Linked DNA regions of Homo sapiens: region 1 is linked to region 2. Evidence: promoter capture Hi-C in human tissues and cell types (Jung and others, 2019). All regions are on one chromosome and are shown on one strand. Each heading gives the region's core, a stretch centred on a gene start or on the middle of the fragment in contact. The rest is flanking DNA. Distances are from core to core; before and after follow the strand shown.

Region 1 (6,010 bases), core at 2,678-5,177, 440 kb after region 2:
GCTATTGATGCTTCCTGACTGTAATCCTCCTAACAGCCTCCCAATATCCCCAACCAAAGGGCTCATTGTCTTTTCCTCCTCTACCTCCCATTATCACTTTCTCTTTTTCCCCAGTTCTGAAGAAGAGCTGTAAAGGAATAATATAATTCACATTTCCCGTAACTGCACCTGCCACTGCAGACCTTGGCCAGCGCTTGCTTTCCTGTCAGTAATTAGGGCATCCCTTGATCCGTCAGATCCTCCCCTCCCAAAGCTTTGTGTGCTAGCAGCTCCTCTATCCCACCTGCAGTTTGTAGCTTCCCTCCGCCCTCTGTCAAAGAACACACACACAGGCTGGCCGTTTCCACACCTGCCCTTTATTGGTCTCTTCTAGCAGAGTGGCTCCAGGCCCTTCACGCCTCTCAGACACCACCCATGAGGGTTTAGGAAGGTGCCATCATTCTGTGAAGGCCCAGAGCTTACCCAAGTCTTGGAGCCCAAGTTGAATCACCAACCAGAGGGTTGGGAGAGGAAAAGGAAACAGGCAGAGGGGAAAGGCAAGGCTCTGCAGTGAAGGGGACTGATATCAAGGGAATGCTGAGGTCCAGCAGTGTCTCCTGAAGGCATGCTGCATCCTAAGGCTCCTCAGGACTGGATGGAGTAGGAGATCTGTGTGTTGAGCAGTTCACATCTATATGGCAACTTTAAGGAGGCGCTTGATGTCAGGCTCAATGTTGATGGTTGGGAAGGTGCGGCTGTAGCGTCGGAAGGGCTCTCCCTCCGGCCCTATGAGGAACTTCTCAAAGTTCCAGGCCACATCTGAGCGGCGCACAGGGCTCCAAATGATGAGCTTGGGATCGGTCATGAGGGAAAATGGGTCATCATAAGGGTAGGGGAGCTTGTCCTTCAGGTAGGCGAAGACAGGATGCTCGTTCTGCCCATTCACCTCACATTTTTGGACAAGGGTGAAGGTGGGCTGGTATCCACCCCCAGGACGGACATACTTGAGACTGTTCAGGATCTCCTCATTCTGACAGTTCTCCTAGGGGAGGAAAAAGACAAAGTGCGTGGACAGTGGGTGGGGGAAGAGAAAGATCCACAACATGAAACTCTTTCACCCTCCTACACTCCCTCCCCAGGGTCATTCTTTTTCACTGTGAAAGAGAGAGAGACAAGACAGACGAGGTGTTGCTCACTGCAGCCTTGAACTTCTGGGCTCAAGCATTCCTCCTGCTTCAGCCTCTTTAGTAGCTGAGACTACAGACACAGGCCACCATGCCCGGCTAATTTTTTTTTTTTTTTGTAGAGATGGGGTCTCACTTTGTTGCCCATGCTTTGGCTGCTCTTCAAGATTTAGCACTTCTGAGCTGTTGCTTTTGTCTCCAGTCTACCCTGAGCAGTTCTTAAGGTGTTTGAAGCAGAAGAAAGAGAAAAGAGGCTTAGGTTATACTGCTTAGAACCTCCTCTTCAACTAACCTACCGACCCACCTACCCATAAATCCATACCTACACACACACCCCTTTCCTTTCCTCTGCCCTGGTTTTGCCTCGCCTGCTTTCAATTGCACGTGTGTTGAGTATAGCCTTTGCCTCTGCCTACTCAGCTCCTTGAACTGAGGGTGAAATTGAGACCCAGAGGAATGGGATTTACAGCTTCTTGCTTTCTTCTTGCCTTGTCCTAGAACTGAAGTACAAATGGGAAGAAGCTTTGATGAAGGAAGACCCCCATCCAAGAACATCTAGTTTTCAGGTGCCATAACAGCAGAGCAAGTTCAAGGCAACAATGAATGTGTACTCTAAATGGAACTACTTAGTAACCAACAGGCATGAAGTAAATAGGATACAGGATTTAGGGTTTGGCAATAGGCCAGGGGGAGGGGGAGTTGAGGAAATAAGTGCTTGATGGCTAAAGATTGTGAGTATGTAATTATCATTCTTTTCTTGAGTAGGCTGCTACCCAAAGACTGCTGCACCTCCTATCCACTCACTGCTCTCAGCTACGCATGCTTTGGCTCAAAACCTGGTCCCTGCCTTTCCCTCCCCACTGCCATCCCTGTCCTATTCCCTCTCAGCATCACCATTCATGACAATCCAAAAGGCCTATGGGAACCCTTCTTTTCCACCTCTACCTTTCCAATTTAACAGACAGATACCTTCCTCTGGGAGAAAGTTCCTGCTTCTGACCTGTGAGAACTAACTAGTTCAGTCAGTTCCAGGCCATCATGACATCATGAGCCCAGAGCTGATCTCTAGTGGACTTCTCTGTTTTTGTTTCTGTTTTTTTTCCTGAGACAGGGCCTCACTCTGTCACCTAGGCTGGGGTGCGGTGGCACAATCATAGCTCACTGCAGCCTCGACTTCCCAGGCTCAGGCGATCCTGCTACTTCAGCGTCCCAAGTAGCTGTGACTACAGGCACATGCCACCATGCCTGGCTAATTTTTGCAATTTTTTGTAGAAACAAGGTTTCACCATGTTGCTCAGGCTAATCTTGAACTCCTGAGCTCAAGCAATCTGCCTACCTTAGCCTCCCAAAGCGCTGGGATTATAGGTGTGAGCCACTGTACCCTGGCAGATTTCTATTTCTTGATACAAATGGCTGGCTGGCTCCTGGTAGGTTATAGACTCCCTCCAGCAACTTGCTAGGCTGAAGAGATGGTGTGAGGCTGGAGGTACTTCTGGGGCTGGAGGGACATCTCGAAAGAGGGTTTGCTACTTCTGTCTCTCCTGCTCTAGAAAAGGCCAGACAGAAAACTTAGGGAAGAACAGTGAGAGCAGTGAACAGTTTGGGCTCAGGTTTGTCACAGCCAGTGATGCTTCAGCCTTCCTGCTTTCCTGTCTTCCTCACCTTCATACCACTGTGAATTGAACTAAGGGGATTATAACGAGAGGGTTCGCTTGGGTTCATTCTCCCTGCTTGTACGTTAAAATCATAGGTGGAAATAGAAGAATCCCTAAAAGAGAACTCGAGGTGTGTGGGCTGAAGATCTATAACAGCTTGACCCATTAATCAGAAATAGGTGCATGTAATGCCCAGAGGCACGTGCCTTTTGAAAACCTTTCTCTTTCCTGCTTATTTTCTTTCCACTTGGCTAATTTAAACCAACAAAAATCATCCTCAATCTAAATAACAGTTTGCTTGCATTTGCATAGTACTTTATATTTTTCAAGTTACTTTTGTATATCCTGTCCCCTAAACATCATAATAATCCTATGAGCTAAGTGGTATTATCCCCAATTTACAGATGAGGAAACTAAACCGAAAAATGAAGCGCCCTTTCCGAGGGCACAGAGCCATTAAATAGCAAAACCAAGTCCAGCTAGAGCTAAGGTCTCTTGAGTCTGTCCAATTCTTGTTTGATTCCTGGCCTCTACTTTCTCCACTCATTTATTCAACAAATATTTAATGAGTGCTTTCTGTGCCCTAGGCACTGAGGACACAGTGGAGAGAAACACAGACCTGGAACCAGCCCTCATGGAGTAATATAGTAGAAAGACAGTAAACTATAAAAATCACACAGCCTCAGTGTTTAATCTTAAAAAATATATACCTTCTCTTGGTATGTCACATGCACCTAAAGACCTAGCTTAACAAAACATACCCCATTATTCCAGACACTCCAAAACATGGTCATTCAGCCTCTCCTTTTATCCCACCTGAGCTACACCAACCCAACACTTTTGGTGCATTACAAGGAGGGACCCCTCACCTGATGTCCAAATTGGTTGCAAGGGAAGCCAAGGACCACCAGGCGCCTGGGAAAGCGGCATTGCAGCTCGTTGAGCTGGGTGAAGTCCCGGGTGGTTGTGCCTCAGAGCGAAGCCACATTCTCAATCAGCACGGCCCTGCCCCGGAACGTATTGAAATCTACCTTCTCCCCATCCAGGCTGATGGCACTGAGGTCATAGAAGGACTTGGCAATGAAAGCCATGGTGAAGCGCAGAGTGAGCCCCGCAGAGAGGCCTGAGCCCACTTATGAGCCTATTAGAGGGGTGGGGAGGAAGGAGGAGCCAGGAAGGAGGACAGAAAGGATCTAACAATGGAGCTTTGAGCATCCCCAGGATGACTTAGCAAAAACAGGTCCCCACCTGTAAGTGCTGTTTGAACAAGGAGGTTGCTCCTCCTATTAACAGACTGAACAAGGCCGCCTCCCCGCCCCACCCTGCTGCAACCTGGGAAGGGCCAATTTGATATCTATGAGCAGAGGTAAATAATTCACTGCTTACAGGAAACCAGAGCCCTAAAGGTCGAATGGAGAGGAAAAAAAGGGAGGGAGGGATGCAGGATTGACTCCTACTTGCCCCATCAAGTTGTTCTCATTTGACACAGACGTTTATTGAATGCCTGCTGAGTGTCAATCTCTGAATTGTACAGTGAGAGGGCAGGGTCTGCGGAGATCTGAAAGATGAAGAAGAGAATTGAGCCTCCTATCCATGGGACTCAGATGACAACTGAAATATACATATTCCTGTTCACGTTCTTCTCTTTGTTGCTTTCCACCAGGACAAAATCAAAGGGACCCTTAGGAGGAGAGTGTGTCATTTTCTAGGGGAAAAAAGAAGTTTTCAGTGCCTCAGCTCTTGCCAGGCTGAAGAGACAAAGTTGTGTTTATCTTGAAAAGTCTTTCAGTGCGTGGTGCCACTTGTCCTGGAGAACACACCAGCCTCTGCCCCTGCACTGTACCATCTCCTATATTATATCCCCCACCTCCACCTCATCCCCCAGCCCCCAAGTCATGAGGCTCAGTCGTTGCTGGGAGAATGGTGAAGAGGAGTCACAGAACAGGTGGATAAACTTAGTGGATGAACTGCACCTACCTTCCTCTCAGACAGAGATTTGGTCCCCAAGACTTTTCAGAGCGGGTTTGTGCTGGTCACCTTCCCACAGAAGGAAGTGTGTGGAGGAAGTTGAAGCTGCTGTGGTTCCAGACGCAGGCAGGTCACCCCTGATGCTTTCAACAAGAGGCGTGCAGTGCATCGCAGGACATCTGCTAAGGGCCATCTCAGAGGCCCACCCCTGGAAGCCACAGAAACCGAAAAGACCCAAGCACCCGCCAACTCAACAAGTTACTCTTTTAAAAATGCCTTGATTTCTTCATCAGTAAAACTAGCAATGGGGCTTGACCTAGCTTTGGGATTTTAGAGTGAAATTTCAATAACAAAGCAAATGTTTACTAGGGTGTTTTCACAGGGGCACATCCATTGGGAACTGTCTCCTTGGAACAAAGAATAAGCAAGTCCGGGGAGCAGCTGGTCTTGAGAATCTGATTTGTTGAGATGAGATGAAGTAATTATCACCAGGGAGCGCCAAGCTGCCTTGCAGCTTTTCCATGGCTGTTCAAGTATACAGGGACCATGTGTCTCAGCTGGCTGCTCCCTAAAAACAAGTTTCCATTACCTAAGTGGACAGAAGGAGTGACAGGAAGTGTAGAGGGAAGTGTGTCCCCTGCTGAAGCTGGGTGGAGTTCCTAGAAGCAACCAATAAGAAAGAGTCCCCACCAAGCCACTGAGTCACAAGGACTTGGCACTGATAGTGGGCAGAACTGTAACTTGCCGGATTTATGTGCATACCTAGAGCTTCCCCCTAGTACTCTCTGGGCCTCCAGAGACACCTCTTATTCTCTGCTCTTTTGCAAGCCTTCTTCAAGAAGGCCATGGGAGTTCCCAAGATGAGGAGTGTGGGGGTTCCCTCTTCCTTAGGTACATGCCATCCCTTTTCTCCTGGTGTGACCTTGGACCCTTCAGACTCCCAGGGTTCTCACCTTTCCTAATGGAATATACTTGGTGAGGCTCTCCTAAAATATCTCTGTCTCCAAATTTACCTCAAACTGGCCTCGCTTTCCAAAAGCTTACAACTTTAAGCATACACTAAGCAGCGTATGATTCTTATGGCTTTCTGTGGGACAGTGCTTGCTCTGGACACAGCACTGGCTTAGGCAGAAAGCCTGGGTTGGTGGTTCTTAATTCTGACTGCAAATGAGAATTGTTTGTAGGAATTTTTCTAGAGATGCCAAAGCTTTGCCCTCCAGTGAT
Region 2 (5,628 bases), core at 2,755-5,254:
ACACAGACATGACAGGACAGGACATTAAGGAAGCTGCAGATCAGAAGACCCAAACATACCTCTTCCCTTTACATATGAAAGAAACCTGGAGTAATAAACTCTGAAACTTACATAGAGCACTGAAGTTTACAGAGAACTTTCATATACAATAACTTATTTCTCTACTTCAGATTAGATAATTTCTATTAATCTATCCTCAAATTAAATGACTTATCTGTCATATCTGATCTGTTAAATCTATTCAAGATTGTTTCAGATATTGTATTTTCAGATGTAAAATTTTCATTTCATTCTTTTTTAAAGTTTCTAATTCTCTGCTGAGATTTCCTATTTGTTCACATATACAACATTTTGCTTTACATCCTTGAGCATAGTTATAATAGCTGCTGCTTTAAATCTTCTCTGCTAAATCCAACCTTTGGCTAATTATGGGGTCAGTCTCCACTGATTAGGGTGATTGTTTCTGGATTATAGTCTAGGTATTGTGATTAATACAATTCACTCTAGATTCTGTAATATTCTTCCAAAGAGTGTTTGTGTTTTTGTTTTTTGCAGACAATTACCTTAGCTGGACTTAAACTCCAAGTTCTGCCTCCCCTATGGTGGACAGCAGCTGAAATCTCTGCTCCTTTAGCCTTAAGTGTGCTGTTTGGAGGCTGCTCCACACATGTACAGTTGAGGGGTTTGCAAGAAATTCAAGCAGAGTTTATAAACAGTGTTTGGGGTTCTGCCACTCCAACATTCTTTCTAGGATTTTCTCCTGCACTTTCCAGCTGCATGATCACTGTGAGCTCTGTCCTCTTTTCTTCAAGAGAGATTACAGGTTGTTATTACAGTTGTAGCCACCTCTTCATATCACCAGCTGGGACCTTATGCCAGTCTAAAAGCCATAAAAACAGAAGCTTATTCATTGCTGTTCTCCTCTTCCAGTTGCAGACCTCAATCTAGTTTTTGTAATTCTCAAATGCCATCTATTAATTTTTAAAACTTTTATCAGCTGGGCGTAGTGGCTCATGCCTGTAATCCCAGAACTTTGGGAGGCAGAGGCGGGCAGATCACCTGAGGTCGGGAGTTCGAGACCAGCCTGGCCAACATGGAGAAACCCCATCTCTACTAAAAATACAAAATTAGCGGGTGTGGTGGCACATGCCTGTAATCCCAGCTACTCTGGAGGCTGAGGCAGGTGAACTGCTTGAACCTGGGAGGCAGAGGTTGCGGTAAGCTGAGATCACGCTACTGCACTCCAACCTGGGCAACAAGAGCGAAACTCCATCTCAAAAGGAAAAAAAAAAAAAGTGTATCAAGTTTATAGTTATCTGCAGGAAACTGTCCTGATAGGAACTATTCAACCATTACCCCCTCCCCCAACATTGTGTTCTTTTTAAACGAAAGCAATTTATTAGAAAATAAATAAAAGAATGGCTACTCCATAGGCAGAGCAGCCCTACTCAACCATTACTGTTTATCAGCAGTTCTAAAAAGCTGTGGTCTCAAGATCCACTCACACTCTAAAAAGTATTACAGACCAGTCACGGTGGCTCACGCCTGTAATCCCAGCACTTTGGGAGGCCAAGGCAGGCGGATCACAAGGTCAGGAGTTCAAGACCAGCCTGGCCAACATGGTGAAACCCCGTCTCTACTAAAAATACAAAAAAAAAAGCTGGGCACAGTGGCGTGTGCCTGTAATCCCAGCTACTCGGGAGGCTGAGGCAGGAGAACTGTTTGAACCGGGACCTGGGAGGAAGAGGTTGCAGTGAGCCGAGATCACACCACTGCATTCCAGCCTGGGCTACAGAGCGAGACTCCATCTCAAAAAAAAAGTATTAGAGATTGTGAAGAGCTGTTGTTTATATAGGTTATATTTATCAATATTTACTATATTCAAAATTAAAAGAAATTTTAAAATATTTAAAATAGCAATAAACCCATTACATATTAACATATTTTTTCCTAAAAAATTTTTCAAAAACAAGTGAGAAGGGTGATATTAATTTACATTTTGCAATCCTCTTTAATATCTGGCTTTAACAGATACAGCTGGACTCTCTTATCTGATTCTGCATTCAATCTGTTGTCATCTCTTGTTTTGGTTCAAGTATATTGAGAATCTGTTCTTACATAAGGGAGATCCTTATTGACCCATGAAACCTCCAGTGGCTCCTTGGACTACACTTTGAGAACCACTGCCCTACACTATCTTTTTTTCTTTTAAATCTTGTGAGGTAGTAGAGCAGGTACTATCAGCTCTATTTTATGGCTGAGAAACCACAGGCTCAGAGAAGGCAGGAAACATACCTGAAGTCAAACAACTAGCTATTAAATGGTGCTGATAATACATCAAGACTGAGTTTAAACCCAGGGCCCTTTCTTCAAAACCCCATCTAGAACTTTCAACATTTACACTGTTGGCAGATTTTGCAAATATGTTGAATCAAATAAGGGAGTAAACTTTTCAAGTGTATAAAATGAAACAAATTAAAATCTATTAAAAAAAAAACACCAAGTACACATGAGGTGCATTCAAACTTGTTTTGCATAATAGGAGATCTTTGATGTTGTAATATACCAGATTTTACTTCAAATCAATAGCCCCATTCCATTGAGTTATTAGAACATTTTCTAATACAACCTACTCTGCAAATTATTAGCTAGACTTTTTGTATAGCCTTTGCTCATCATTCTTTGACTGTCTATTTTATTTTCTCTAGTATGTGAAATAGCTAAAGTTTCCCATGAATACAGAAAGAGCTTAGAAGTTACATTTGAGAATTTCTGGTGAGAATTTTAAGATGTGAGAGAAATTATGGAAAAATAAAGTATTTTATTATACTTATAAATACCAGAATCAAAATATGAGTGCTACATTTTTAAAAGTTTTATCTGTTATCAAAGTGATACATTATCATAATAGTTTTAGCATTGATATTTAAGAGATTACAAAAACCTTCTTTACCTTCTAGATTGTAGTAACTCTGGATTACTTCAAATTAAGATGGAACAACTTTATACTAGTATCTATGTTTGTTTAAAGCTGGCTTGATATTCAATACATATCTTTGATTCTTATGTATTTAGAAAAATCTACTGTACTAGACTGGACTCTCAGATCTATGGTAGCCAGCCGGATATCCTGGACTACACAGCTCTTCATTCTCTCAGGCTGTAAGAATCCTTAATAAAAAAGGAACAAAAAGAGCAAGACGACTGTTTCTGTAGGAAAACAGTCTTAGGTATTTTCTCTGTCAATGCTTACCACTGAGACTTTATGATGAATTTTCATTCAGACAAGGAGACAGGAAAGTTGGCAGAGGAATATGTACATCTTTTTTGAGCTACTTACTCATGGCTATAAATACAAAGGCAAAAGCAAAATATTTCAAGTGCCATATGATAAAAGACTTTATATAGCGACTAACTTTTTAATGGAACTTTCACATGACTGTAGAGGTGTGACATTTAATTATGTAGAGAATGAAACAATGTTTGTAGAAATCATTTTATCCTGAAACAGAGGTTCTTATTGCTGACTATACTGTAAAACCTTCTATGCAGAGCTGTATTGATGTCTGAGTCCCAACCCAGGCTTAGCCCAAACAGAATTGAATTGCTAGGGGTGAGGCACAGATTCTTTTTTTTTTTTTTTTGAGACAGAGTCTCGCTCTGTCGCCCAGGCTGCAGGCTGGAGTGCAATGGCGCGATCTCGGCTCAATGCAACCTCCGCCTCCTGGGTTCAAGTGCTTCTCCCGGACTCAGCCTCCTGAGTAGCTGGGATTACAGGTGCCCATCACGCCTGGCTAATTTTTATATTTTTAGTAGAGATGGGGTTTCGCCACGTTGGCCAGGCTGGTCTTGAACTCCTGACCTCAGGCGATCCGCCTGCCTTGGCCTCCCAAAGTGCTGGGATTACAGGCGTAGGCCACTGTTCCCGGCCAGATTGTTTATTTGTTTATTTATTTTTATTTTTATTTTTTTGAGACAGAGTCTCACTCTGTTGCCCAGGCTGGAGTGCAGTGGCACGATCTCGGCTCACTGCAAGCTCCGCCTCCCGGGTTCGCGCCATTCTCCTGCCTCAGCCTCCCGAGTAGCTGGGACTACAGGCGCCCACCACCACACCCAGCTAATTTTTTTGTATTTTTAGTCGAGACGGGGTTTCACTGTGTTAGCCAGGATGGTCTCGATTTCCTGACCTCATGATCCACCCGCCTCGGCCTCCCAAAGTGCTGTGATTACAGGCGTGAGCCACCGCGCCCAGCCCAGATTCTTTTTTTAAAAAGCTTCCCAGGTGATTCTAACGTGACTGCTCAGTTAAGAACCACTGCCTCAGAAGAACACGGGACCAAGGAAACCCAAGAAATTATTTCACACTCTACAATTACATTGATATTTAAGAGACAATAAAAACTTTCTTTACTTTCTAGATTGTATAACTCTGGATTAGTTCAAACTAAGTAAGATAGAACAACTTTATACTAGTCTCTATAAATAAACAATTCCGTAAGAGTGTTCAAAGTATGGAAATTATGTTGACTACATTAAATGAACAAATATAAACAACTGTAATTCTAATTGTAACCTTAAAATATTGGCCAGATTAAGAAACAAAAGTGCTCCATGGCCAGGCATGGTGGCTCGCTCCCAGCACTTTGGGAGGCCGAGGCAGGTGGATTACCTGAGGTCGGGAGTTCGAGACCAGCCTGACCAACATGAAGAAACCCCGTCTCTACTAAAAATACAAAATTAGCCAGGTGTGGTGGCACATACCTATAATCCCGGCTACTCGGGAGGCTGAGGCGGGAGAATCGCTTGAACCCAGGAGGCAGAGGTTGTGGTGAGCTGAGATTGTGTCATTGCACTCCAGTCTGGGCAACAAGAGTGAAACTCCATCTCAAAAAAAAAAAGAAAAAGAAAAAAAAGAATCAAAAGTGCTCCTAAACTGGCAGGATGGGCATGGGTGGGGGGGTGGAGGAACACACTATTTTCAGACTTCTTTTCAAATAGTATTTAGGAAAAAGAAATATTTACTCTCTTACTCCATTACACCTAGATTGGATTTCATAACACCTAAAAATGATACAGAAATTCTAAATCTGAAAATACTGTTTGAGGTAAAATCTGCTGTAATTCCAGACATCTGCTTATTAAGATCTACTGAGAATGTTAGCAAAGAGGGTATGGAGGGGGTAGATGAAACAGGAAGAGTAGTTATGCTCTAGAAACCTTTAATGGAACTGGGAAACGTTAGTTTGGGGCCTCCTGCCTGTTGGCAGACATAGCCAACCTCCAAGCACCTCTAATTCCCATCTAACCAACATTACATTGTAGGATGCCTGATAAAGCCAAGCACACAAGAATACTAACAACAGTAAGCACAAATTGTTAATAGACCTTTAAAAAAAATCAGAACCCGGAGAAAGAAAGGAAAAGATTCCTCTCAGTCCATTAAAGACAAACCAAATTTCTAAAAGAAAAAATAAGGTACTCAAAGGACAGGAGAAAGATGGAAAATTATAATGCTAGTACAGACCTAGAATACAGTACAGGCAAGAGTAACTAAAACTTCTGGATACAAGTAAACCAATACTTCTTTCGCAATGGAAGTATACTCCCATGAACACACTACTCAAGTGG

The links. Contacts are between HindIII fragments. The study calls those that stand out against the background at their distance.
Region 1: the fragment with the promoter of GPX2 here is called in contact with a fragment that was not itself captured in region 2 in 1 of the 25 tissues and cell types used here (dorsolateral prefrontal cortex).

Annotation. Positions count from the first base shown.
Region 1 is chr14:64,938,818-64,944,827 of GRCh38, forward strand. GPX2 (glutathione peroxidase 2) reads right to left here and starts at 3,928. Exons shown (of 2, transcript NM_002083.4): 1 at 3,688-3,928; 2 at 341-1,021. The coding sequence starts at 3,909. The coding sequence ends at 671. All of the region lies in intron 3 of CHURC1-FNTB (CHURC1-FNTB readthrough), which reads left to right. The HindIII fragment of the contact is 8,107 bases long and covers 970-6,010 here.
Region 2 is chr14:64,494,680-64,500,307 of GRCh38, forward strand. The region is part of intron 1 of ZBTB25 (zinc finger and BTB domain containing 25); the gene reads right to left. Among named protein-coding and RNA genes, the nearest start is that of ZBTB25, 6.3 kb to the right of the region's middle. The HindIII fragment of the contact is 7,112 bases long and covers 449-5,628 here.